2 separate regions of the Homo sapiens genome follow, and region 2 is linked to region 1. Evidence: promoter capture Hi-C in 16 types of primary human blood cells and fetal thymus (Javierre and others, 2016). All regions are on one chromosome and are shown on one strand. The core of a region is centred on a gene start or on the middle of the fragment in contact, and the rest is flanking DNA. Distances in the headings are between cores, read along the strand shown. Region 1 holds the start of KCNJ16 (potassium inwardly rectifying channel subfamily J member 16). Region 2 has its middle 250 kb from the start of KCNJ2.

Region 1 (6,338 bases), core at 1,918-4,417:
TTTTGGAACATGTTAAGGTAAAAATCACCTTTTTTTTATGCGGAGTTGTTGGATAAATCTAATTTGGGACTGTTTTTTCCCCAGATGATTGACTTTTTAAAATTTTCTTATACACCTGTCAGCAGTTTCAGATCTAGTTTTAGGAGGGGGAGAATGTGGAGCCATGGCAACTGGGAAAAGTTGCATTTAATAGTGAGAAGCCTCTATTAGAATGTTATGTTTTGCATCCAGATCCTTGATTTCAGAGTAGAACTTTCTGGAACAAGGTGAGGAAAAAAATCTGATCCTATCTTTTTCATTTAAAAGCAGCTATACAAAAAAATAAAGTCATCCACCCCTTGTGTTTAACAGAGTGAAATAACTACAAAGCCTAGGGTCCATAGGCCCTAAAGCATGATGATAAAAATAGTTCTCCTCCCAGTCTGCAGAAGCTAACCAGCTAAGAAAGCAAAATGTAACTGTCTTTGTATAGGAAAGCATTCTTCATGCAATGCATTTCAGATAAACTATCTTTTTTTTTTTTCTGAATCTGGGCCCTTGGGCCTGAAAAATTTAACCAAGAACCAGCTATTTGAGTTTACTTTCATTTCCCATAGACATCTCAGAAGATGAGCCCTTATTACCATGGTTTCCAGCAAAGGGGCCATTTGGAGATGCCAAAGCTGATGGATGGACTCACTAAAATGCAAGAAAAAACAAACAAACAAAAAAAAAAAACACAGCCTAACCAGGAAAGAGGCATTTGGAGAAAGACTTCTAATTCTGTTTACTGTCCATGAAATCTACTTTTACTTAGATTTCTTAATTTCCTGTCTCTTGACAACATCTGGTTTGAGCTACAGAGGGCCTGGCTTCTGTGTTGAGATTTGTGTTTCCCTTACAAGTTTCATGTTGGTGAGCATATTGTTAGCCTCAGCACAGCCTTGATGTTCAGAAACCTTTTTATTTACTCCATTGGGTACACTGGAGGAGCCTAACTTCATTTGCTCTCATGCTTATGCTAATTCTGCTCATTCTCACATCTATATTTTGTTCACTTGTATCATCAGCCTGTCATCCGCAATACTCCTCACTGTCTCTCCACTTATCTAAATCTACGCTTCCCATGGTCTTTTCTAACATCTCAAAAACCTTCTCTGACACTTGTAGCTTGCAGAATCGTATCTGTCTTGGTAAATATTATGGCACATCTACAGGACCTCATGTATTCCCTGCTACTCCCACTCCTGCAATTTTGCTTCAGCCACACTGGCCTCTTTGCTGTTTTGTTAACTCGCCAGGCACACCTCAGCCTTAGGGCTGTTCCATCTGCCTGAACTGCTCTTCTCCAAGGATTCTACGTTGCTCACTTCCTTGCCACCTCCAGGTCTTTGGCTAAATATCACCCCCTTAGTGAAGACTTCTTTGACAGTTCCATTTATAAATGGAAAATGGTGGGAGGTAGCTTTGAAGATGGCTCCCAATGATCTTCTTATGCTGGAACTCAAGTTCTTGTATGAGGACAAGTGGTAGGTTTTACTAATTTAACAAAGAAAATACCTGTATTATTTCGGTGCCAAATATTTACTTTCAATGCCCTTTATATATTTTGCCTCAAACTATACTTTTTTTCCATTTCTAATTTTCAATTAATTTATATCCAGGTCTTAGCTTGTACTCACCACTAATCTATATAATAGAAGAAACATATATTTTTCAATATCCTTGAAGACTCTTGTTCTCTCTCATGCTGAAATTCTTGTTGAGAAAAATGCATTAAAATAGAATATTGAATTCCTCTCCCAAAGCAGTCTTTTCTTGCAGTTTCAAAGGTTGTCAGTCTTGTTGTATATGAGACTAATAATCTTAGATTTATCACAATTATCGTGTTCTAAAAATAAACAAGCAGGATTACATCTCTAAGTTACTCAGGCTCTCTTTCTCTTTCTCTCTCTTTTGATTTGAATTGAACTCTGGACCTTGTTCACTTTTAAATTCTTTTTGGCTGAATTTCAGGAATTCCTTAAATGTATTCTGCAAAACAGCTGTGGTTTGGGTACTTCATGTTCCTTTATTGGTTAAAATCTGACATAAAGAGTGGCTAGTCTACATTTCCCATACTAAAGTAACAAAGGTGCATTCATACATTTTTTTCTTCTTCAGGATCTGGCTCTTACTAGCCATAAGAGTAATATTTAGCAGAAATACTCCAATACTCTTTTTCTAAAGACCATTCAGTCCATGTAATACACATGATCAAAATTCATCTGGCTTATAGAAATGTTATTGTTTACTACCTAAATATACCAACAAGGAAAACTGTTCAATTATATATGTCAGAGAATTCGTGGCATCCAGAGAGCAAAGTTTTACAAGCTCACACTTTTCTGACTAAATACTCAAAACAAAATTTTAAGATTTTTAAATGATAAGAAAAAAAAAAAAGCTTTAGAGGGATTAAGGTGAAAACAAAAGGAGAAAATTCTTCACTTTCAATTTATGTTAAAATAAATCTAGAAAAAATAGATCTCTTATTTCCTTTCAATGATTATAGACAACTATAAAAAAAAGTTAACGTGTATTTTCTCTGAGCTTTTTAAGAGGGGGGTATAAAATACATATTTTTCAATATTTGCAATTATATGTTCATAAGTGCATACAGGATGCAAAAATCTGGTTTTGAAAGACATTGCAGAATACTCCATGTGGTATGAATATAATAAAGCCACTTTTAGACATTTACAAATATAATAGCAGGCAAGGGCTGTTTAACAGACTCTGTAAACACCAATGTGAGACTACTTTTAACCAAAGCTTCAAAATAACTTAAGGAATATGACACACTGTTTGATTCCTACTTAAAGCACTTGGATAAAAAATTAAATTATCTTAATTGCATTTAATTGATCATTAATATTTACGTTTGCTGGAAACAGAGTGTTGCTGCTCCCCAAACACAGATGCCAGCAAGAGCAAAACATAGGCTGAATGACATTGTATCCATAGCAATAATAGCACTTACCTTTATTCACTCTCCCCACAGAGAATCTATGAGCTAGGTGCTTTCAGCTGGGCAATGGTAGAGAATGCTCTTTAGTTAATAATAAAGGAAAGAAAAGCTCCAGACACCAAGAACCTGGGTTAACCATTGACACCGGTTTGTTCCTACAGTTCCTCCCTGGGAATCTACATAGGTAGCCCCTGGCGTCTTATCAAGCAAGCCATAGCCAGTCAGCTGTGGCAGTGATTACGTCACCACCTCTGTACCTCTGGAGGAGGTACAGTGTGAAGGTCACCCAAGTATATCCTGACTAAGTTTTTACTTGATCAGGGATACAAAGGAGGAAGATTTGCTGGGCCAGAACTATGCTCAACAATGCCTGTAAGTGACTCAAATATTTACAGACAGGATTGTTGAGAGACGACCTATGGAAATGCTCCTGCTAGTTTTCAGACTCTGTTGGAATAGTACAAATAAATCCCTTTCATCAGAACTCTTTGTCTACATCTTAACAGCTGAGGATTGGGATTGCATGCTGACGAAAAGCGAGACAGGATAATGACAGGTAGCTAAGCATCCATTCAGTCTTTTATTTACCAAACCTTTAATGATTATTTTTCCTGTGCTGCCTAGTTCCAAAGAACATGAGTTCACAGTTGATTAGCCCTCTGACTAATCAACATGGATGGCAGAAATTGGGGTTGGAAAGTCTTCCTTTCCTCAACCCCAGGAATCAGAGCTCGAGCCTGAGATGGTGAATACAATGCAGGCTGTGGTATAGGTTTTGCCTGGCATTGAGTCCTAATGGGTTAAATAAAATGGTGAGGTGATCCCGTGGTCAGTGCTCTCCAGGAGGTAGAAAAGTGAGTGATCAGGGAAGAGGTAGACTTATAATGCTAGAATCAAGAGAAAGATCCAGAAAATGTGAAAAGCAGCCATGGGGAACTAAACAAATAGCAACCCTAGGCTCTTCAGAACCTGGGGGAGTTGTGTCCAGGAATGCTCAATAGAAGTGTTATGCTAGCAAGGAATTAGTTTTTCCTTTGCTTCACAGAGCGGTGGCAGCCAGGGGATCTAGGGAACCACATCAGGCTTGGTTAACACTGCAAATTTAAGAGGCCTTTTCTAGGTTCTGACAATCGTTGCTGTTTGACGGTTGTTAGAGTTTTGTTTCCATTTTTAAAAGCATGAACACTTGAGGAAGTGGACTTCTATGTTGGCACCGCCACTTACTAGCTGTGTGACACTGAGAAACTGCTTAACCTTTCTGCAACTCCATTTTCTCAACTGTCAAATGGGGATGATAATAGCAACAACGACAACACCTACCACAGATAGATAATTCGTGTTCCAAACTCATAGCTGTCACTAAGGTATACATATTCTGATAGGAAGACCTATTTTGCAATCTGTTACACAATATCTGCAGAAGAGTTTGAACTCTCCAAGGGACCTATCTTTTCATTCATCCATAAATCTCAGGTAAGCAGTGAATGCAGAGGTTGCCTTTTCTGTTAAAAAAAAAAATTGAAGACTAAACAAATGCCTACATTTCCATAACAATTGCAGCAACTCTCATTGTGGTTTATCCATGATGTTGTTCAATATTATCACTTAATGCTGCTCAATTACTGCCTTGTTTGAAAGCAGAGCACACTTTGTTAGAGTTCTATCTCAAAAGACTTAAAAAAAACACACACGCAAAAATGGACAGGACTCCATCTGCTCTGCAAATACAATTTCAGGAAAGGTGATTTTATGTGGGTGAGCATTTAGATTGATCTGAGAAGACGAGGCATCTAAACACAGCGTAAAAACAGACCATGGAGAAGAGCAAGACGGGAGGCAAGATGGGGAAACTAGATGGATTCCCAACTCCAGCTGAGTCAGATCGCCATTGCGTGGCTTCATTCCTTTGTTTGAAGTAAATTCCCAGAATATCAGACACACCCATACTCACATGTAAGTAGAAAAACACTTTCTAAAGCCAAATAAATAAAAATGATATCTGGATTGGCTTTTCTGTTACATGTCTCTGCCTCCTCAGTCTACCTTAACTGATAATTAACTTCATTGAAGTTCAACTTTTGTGAACTTTAATCCTCCCCCAAACAGAAAGACAAACTGAGGCAAGTTGAGGAGGCATGTTCAAGATTTGTCAAATTACAAGAATTTGTTACTTGAATGTAAGTGATAAATAATTATCTCTTTCAAAAATCTGTAATGTATTGCTGTTCTGTGATTTTAGTATTGGCCTAAGAGGAAGTTACATTGTACAAAGGGGTTACTTGTTAGAGAGAACACTCTAGCTCCGTCACTGGAAGACTGTGGCTTGCTTCCAGTTTTTGTAAGGACTCCCAGCTAAGAATGGTTTTTACAATGATAAATAGCGGGGGAAAAGTAAAAGAAAACTAATATTTGTGACATGAAAATGATGTGAAATTCACATTTCTATGTCTGTAAATCATGTTTATTGGTAAATATGCCTATCCCTATTTTTTTACTTACTGTCAATGAAGGCATCATATTACACAACAGAATTCAGTGACCTTCAAGACCTCAACAGAGACTGTGGTCCTTAAAGCCTAAAATATTTTGTATCTGGCCCTTTACAGAAAAAAAAAACAAAAACAAAACTAGCTAAGCCGTAAAATTTACTCTTCTCCAAAAGTAATGTTCCTCTTTTCTGATTAATGATTTTCCTCTCACGGTTAAGTCCAAGTCAACTGCATTTCTATGACTTAAAATCCTATCTTTCCTTCAATATTCCTTTTACTAAGTCTTTCCTTGCCTACTATAAATATCAATAAATAGTTTATTTCAAAATTAATAATAATAAAAGAATAATACTCTTTAAAGGCACGATGTTTTTCAATCTATATATTTTAGCTTTTAGTTGCATGTCTTATTTCCTCTACTAAATTCTAAATATTTGTGGTTAGGAACTTACTGAATCTTACTCATCTTTTTTTTTTTAATTTTTAATTTTTGTGTGTTTTCAGATGGGGTTTTCCTATGTTGTCCAGGCTGGTCTCAAACTCCTGGACTCAGGCAATCCTCCCGCCTCAGCCTCCGAAGTAGCTGGGACTATAGGCATGTGTCATTGTGCTTGACTCCCTCATTCATCTTTGAGTCCAACCAAGTGACTAACAGAAAGCTAGAATTCAGTACTGATACTAATACTAATACTGAGGGATGAATGCTTTTCTGAATTAAGCAAACAAGCATATTAGGAAAATAAAACTGTTTGTCTTTTAAAGGTTTCTTTACCTTTTTCTTCAGTTTACTTTCTTAATGAGCTTCCCTATCACTGTCCATCGTCCATCTCTCCTGAGTCGCAAGACCCTCTTGCTGCCCA
Region 2 (6,338 bases), core at 1,103-3,602, 340 kb before region 1:
ATGCTTCTATAGCAACCTGTACTCCTGCTTTTATCACATTTTAAAATAATTACTTGTTAATGTCAATGTTTCTCATAACCCTTGTTCTGTCTATTAGGATATGCATTCTGAAGCTGGGCTACACTGGTGATCATAGGCAAGTTACTTAAACTCTCTGGGACTCAGCTGCCTCATTTATACTATGGTGATAGCAAGAGTATCTACCACTTCATAGAGTTGTTGCTCAGGTCAATTAATTCATAGATGTGTATTGTTCATAAGAAATAAAAGAAATAATATATTGACCATGTAATAATTGTTGATCCCTCTTAGGAAACTCTTTACTAAGTCAAGTTCAATGGACAAAGCATTGTATTCAGAGCCAGAAAATTCATATTCTAGACCTCATTGCTCCAACTCAGTTGTAGGTATCAGAAAATCAAGTTTACTTGCTTGATAAAATATTGGGGCTTTAGTCTAATCTGAAACTCTGAAAAAGTGCCTTTACATCCCGATAGCTAACTCAAATAGCTCGTTTAAGTGGAAATACTTTAACGAAAAGGATCATTATTTCATGCATCTTTATAATGTCCTCTGTCCTAAGCACTGTCTGGCCCATGATGGGTGCTCATAAATGTTTGTTAAATCGAACAGAATATCATCAGATCAAGCTTCACAGAAGGTCATGGGCTTAGACCCAGGTGCAGACAGTGTAATATAAACCTCATGGGAAACTGTCAAAGCACAGCTCTCATGCTATGATATAAGAATTCTTTGGCAAATGACTTTCTCCATGATCTCTCATGGCTTATTTGTAGAAAGGGAAAAACCAGGTGTCCTGACTACTGTTCCACTGACTCCAAAAGGAGTACATCAAATACATTTTTCAGACAATAACTTGGAACATAATGATGGCCAAAAACAACTTCTGTGATAATAACTTGATTCTATGATAGCAAATATTAAGGTAATACATACAGACAAGTCAAACTGACAAATTTCTACCCTCTCTCTAATAATAAATCAAAATGGCTAACAGGAGAAAAGCAATCATGAGTTAATGACTTTATGTCATGGGTCTCAAAAAGGTTGATCATTATACAACCTTCTCTACCTAAAAGAATATTGAGTAACGACATCTTCAACAGTTGCATTGCAGATACGTACCATAATTCATTTAATCAAATCCTCTATATCAATAAACACTTAGGTTACTCTTAATTTTTTAAATGTAAACATCCTTAATACATAAATAGCTTTTAAAAATTAACAGTAAAAACAAAAATATTAATACTGAAGAATGACCATCATAAATAATTGCATGCATATATTTGAGCATTGGTTCTATTATGTCTTTAGGCAATAGTCTAGAGATATGAATGTGAGTTGAGGAATATTCAGTTTGCATTTTTGTTATTTTTATTTTAATTTTGATAGTTTTGGGGGAACAGGTGGGTTTTGGTTACATGGATAAGTTCTTTAGTGGCGATTCCTGAAATACTGGTGCACCCATTACCCGAGTGGTATACACTGTACCAATTGTAGTCTTTTATCCCTCACACCCTCCCACCCCTTCCCCGTGAGTCCCCAAAGTTCTTTCTTGTGCGTTTGCAACTTCATAGCTTAGCTCCCATTTATAAGTAAGAACATAGGATATTTGGTTTTCCATTCCTGAATTACTTCACTCTGAATAATAGCCTCCAAATCCATCCAAATTGCTTCAAAGCCATTATTTCATTCTCTCTTTTTTTTTTTTTTTTTTTTTTTTGAGACGGAGTCTCGCTCTGTCACCCAGGCTGGAGTGCAGTGGCACGATCTCGACTCACTGCAACCTCTGCCTCCCGGGTTCAAGCAATTCTCCTGCCTCAGCCTTCTAAGTAGCTGGGATTACAGGCACCCGCCACCACGCCCAGCTAATTTTTGTATTTTTAGTAGAGACGGGGTTTCACCATGTTGGTCAAGCTGGTCTCAAACCCCTGACCTCATGATCCACCCGCCTTGGCCTCCCAAAGTGCTAGGATTACAGGCGTGAGCCACCGCGCCCGGCCCTTTTCGCTGAGTAATATTCCATGGACTATATATATCACATTTGGCTGGTTCCATATTTTTGCAATTGGGAAATGTGCTGCTAACTTGTCTCAAGAAATTTCTCCTGGAAGAGACTGTATCTCCATTCTCCTACCAACACTTTTATTATTTACCTTTTTATTGTGTCAATCTAATAGACTAATTAATCATCTTAGTTGGTTTAACTTGCTTTTATTTAGTCACCACCAAGGGTGACTATCTTTTCATTAGGTTCTTGTTTAGGTCTCAGCTTAAGTATCAGCTCCTCAGAGATGCCTTCTCTGAGTCTTTATCTAAAAAGCAGCCTCCTTGGTGTCATAGTGTCGTTTTCCTTTTCATTTTAAAAAATTATATGCTCATGTTTATTTTTCTCGAGCATTTTTTATGATTGATAAGTATTTTAATAAGATTTAATCACCACATCATATTACCTTTAATAATGATAGGCTCACATTGTTGAGAGCTATATGTTTTTCCTGTTACCATTTCATTTAATCCACTTAGCAACTCTGTGGGATAGGTACTATTATTATCTACATTCTACAGATGAGGAAACTGAAAGGTTACCTGACTGGCCAAAAATATCACAGCACTAGAATACAGTGCAGATGTCTGTGGCCTAGAGAAGTTAAGTTGCTTAAAAGGACACACAGCTAGTAAACTGAAGATACAACTCAAACTCCAGTCTGGGTTCTTCAGCTGCAATTTAGCCCACTCACTGACTAATCATTATAATTTATCTGCAGATATCTCTTTTCTAGATGTTTTCATTAGGATTCAGAATCAGGTTCTTAGAGCCACTTCCAAAAATTCCCTTTCACTTCAAACCACAAGGCTATCCTCAATTAGGAACTAATAATAGACTAGCAAAAAGGGTAAGAATATTTTACTTAGCCCATTATTCTCAGAGAAAGAATGGTAAAGGGGACTCAGTTTATTCTATGAAGCATTCCTTATGGAAAATTATGTACATGTGACATTCAACAACATAAGGGAATTTTCAAATGTAAATATTCAATCGATCATACATATGGCTTTCTCCTATTTTTTGGTTTCTCTTTCACTGACTGCTTCAATTCATTCTAAGTAAGCCTGGGAAAATATTTTTTTTTAATTCCTATTAATCATAGTGTTAACCCTAGGGGTTAAGACAGAGTATTTTGAAATGATATTTTTCCTAACCAGGGGGAAGGCCACAGGAGCCAGAATGGCTTGGGTTTCCAAACACAAAAAGCATAAATAAAATCAAACATTATCACACTATCAAACATTCATAAATCCTTTCACAATCCTGCTGCCATATTTCCTTTACTCTTTCATTTTTTTCCTGTTTCCTCTTTAAAACATTGCCAATAACTTAACTCCATTACTTTGATTTTTTCCATACCAAAAAAATTCCATGTGTACGGTTTTCCAGCATTTATGATTTTGACAAGTTTATTTCTTTGTCATCTTTTCTCCCTCATGGCACCTGTAAGAACCCTTTACCTTTAAATCTTACCATCATTTCTCAATGGTAGCTTCTTTTACTACCTCAGGCTCCCATGCAAAACCAGGTGGAAAAAGAAAACCCTCTAGAGTTTTCTTGATCATATCACTTTTAAAAGTCTTATTTGGATATTCACTTAAAAGAAAGTGTTAATATGATGATCTAGAAGTTTGCAAATCTCACTTAGGCTATTTAATATTTAGTGTTTAAAAATCTTCATCTCTAGGGGAGGTCTAAAAGTACATGATGCAAGGAAAAGAGAGTCTTACTCTTTGCCTTCCCATATATTGACACTGTCAATCCCTTAGGGCCACAAAGAAAGAACAGTATCCTCTAAACTACCCCTTCTTTATTCTACCACCTCATTGCTCATTAAAGTCACTTTTAAAACTATCTGAAAATAGCTCATTAAAGTCACTTTTAAAACTATCAGAAAATAGCTAAATGTTCCACTCAAAAGATTATGTAATTATATACTTCACAACATAGGCTTTCCAGGTGAGTGGATAAAGAAGCTTTGCATAGTAAATCCCATAAGCAGACCAGCAAAATCATCTAAAACAAAATTAGATGATAATTCCTCCAGCCCTGTTAGTGGAATTGCTTTAGTTTTAATACAGCACAATGTGTTCCGAATTCTAAAACATAATTCAAAATAAACAAAATATTATCAATAAGTAATTTTCCCTGAATCAGTTCTCTGGATCCAGACATGTCATTTGGTCTAATTTATGCTTTAACCTACCCACCACAGGATGAAGAGTGTTTCCAGCAAGCACATTTGTTTTTAGACTTTAAATTCAAAAAATGCAGCCATCCAGGAGTTTAAATGAATTCCCCGAAATGGACAGAGTCCAAACTGTGATGATTATAGAAGTAAAGCTCAAATAATCATCTTATAACCTTTATATCCAGTTTGGCTCAATTCTACTGAGAACTGTGAGAGACGGTTCTGGTGATAAGTAGATTAGATGATAAGCATCTGTTTGCCTGTCTTCTCTGACTTAGAAAAATACTGAGGAAAGACCATTTCTACGAATTTAATAATAATTGTGTTGCTTTTGGTTTCCTCCCTTTGCTTGTAACTCCAGAGAAAAACACCTCATTATCCTTAACCCTTCCAAATTCCTGTGGATGCTTCACAACCACTGGCTTCTATTTAATTTCTTTTGGATCTTTCAAAGTGTTAAGTATTTGGCTCCTCTATATATGAATATCTAATTATCCTAAGCACTGCTGAACTTCTAAAGTAACTACTTTTCTTTCTTTGATTTGCAGTTCTCTATACTGACTTCTTCAGTTCAACATCAAATGCCCCTGAATCCTCTTAAAAGCCAATCTACAATTGGAACTCAATTTCTCCCTTCTCTGGTTTCGTATTGCCTGCATTGTAGGTCTTTTGAAAGATAATTCTTTAAACCTCCTTGCATGTTAAGCAATAGACAAGAGCACAAAGAAGCAATTGAATTTGAGAAAAATTAACTAAAATAGCAGGCAGTACAACATAGTGATTAAGAAAATGACATTGGCAGCCAGGCGCAGTGGCTCACACCTGTAATACCAGCACTTTGGGAGGCCGAGGCAGGCAGATCATCTGAGGTCAGGAGTTGGAGACCAGCTTGGCCAACATGGTGAGAACCCGTCTCTAATAAAAATACAAAAATTAGCTGGGCGTGGTGGCAGGTGCCTGTAATCCCACCTACTCAGGAGGCTGAGCCAGGAGAATCGCTTGAACCTGGGAGGCAGAGGTTGCAGTAAGCTGAGATCGTGCCACTGCACTTAAGCCTGGGCAACAAAGTGAGACTCTGTCTCAAAAAAAAAAAGGAGAGAAAATGACATTGGCATTCACACTGTGTGGGTTCAGGTGTGGCTTTGCTACTTCCAGGCTATGTGATCTCGAGCACATTATTTTCTCTAGACTTTAGTTTCCTCATACCTAAAACAAAGATAATTATAGTAACTATCTTACAGATTAATGGTGAGACAAAGAAAATCCACGTCAATAACCCAGCAAATTTTCTGGCACATAACACACCTTTATCGTTTTTATTAATAATGGCAATATAGAACCAGAAATTCCATTTGACCCAGCAATCCCATTACTGGGTATATACCCAAAGGATTGTAAATCATTCTACTATAAAGACACATGCACATGTATGTTTACTGCAGCACTGTTTACAATAGCAAAGACTTTGAACCAACCCAAATGCCCATCAATGATAGACTGGATAAAGAAAGTGTGGCACATATACACTGTGGAATACTATGCAGCCATAAAAAAGAATGAGTTCATGTCCTTTGCAGGGACCTGTATGAAGCTGGAAACCACCATTCCCAGCAAACTAACCTGGGAACAGAAAACCAAACACCACATGTTCTCACTCATAAGTGGGAGTTGAACAATGAGGATACATGGGCACAAGGAGGGGAACATCACACACGGGGGCTTGTTGGGGGGTTGGGGGCAAGGGGAGGGAGAGCATTAGGACAAATACCTAATGAAGATGATGGGTAGATGGGTGCAGCAAACCACCATGGCACATGTATACCTATGTAACAAACCTGCATGTTCTGCACATGTATCCCAGAACTTAAAGTATAATAAAAAATTTTTAAAAATATTTCTCTCCTAGGTTTTTGCTGTCGTATTTCACATCCTAAATTTACCTTCTCGGTTATCAAATTTGGCCCAACCAAAGCCTAGTTCTACCATTGTTCTAAGGCTTCTACATTGATTCCCCTGTCATCTGCATAAAGGGCATTCCTACCAGATTATCAGCTGTCTTAGCTCCTACTTGAC

Evidence for each region. The method cuts DNA at HindIII sites, captures the fragments that hold promoters and counts their contacts. A CHiCAGO score of 5 or more calls a contact.
Region 2: a fragment that was not itself captured here is called in contact with the fragment with the promoter of KCNJ16 in region 1 in 1 of 17 cell types (monocytes); the score reaches 6.0 in monocytes.

The regions. Positions count from the first base shown.
Region 1 is chr17:70,072,054-70,078,391 of GRCh38, reverse strand. It overlaps KCNJ16 (potassium inwardly rectifying channel subfamily J member 16), which reads right to left and starts at 3,167. Exons shown (of 4, transcript NM_170741.4): 1 at 3,002-3,167. It overlaps LOC105371881 (a long non-coding RNA gene), which reads left to right and starts at 3,585. Exons shown (of 3, transcript XR_934952.3): 1 at 3,585-5,166. The HindIII fragment of the contact is 12,238 bases long and covers 2,796-6,338 here.
Region 2 is chr17:70,412,642-70,418,979 of GRCh38, reverse strand. No RefSeq gene overlaps it. Among named protein-coding and RNA genes, the nearest start is that of KCNJ2, 250 kb to the right of the region's middle. The HindIII fragment of the contact is 3,400 bases long and covers 653-4,052 here.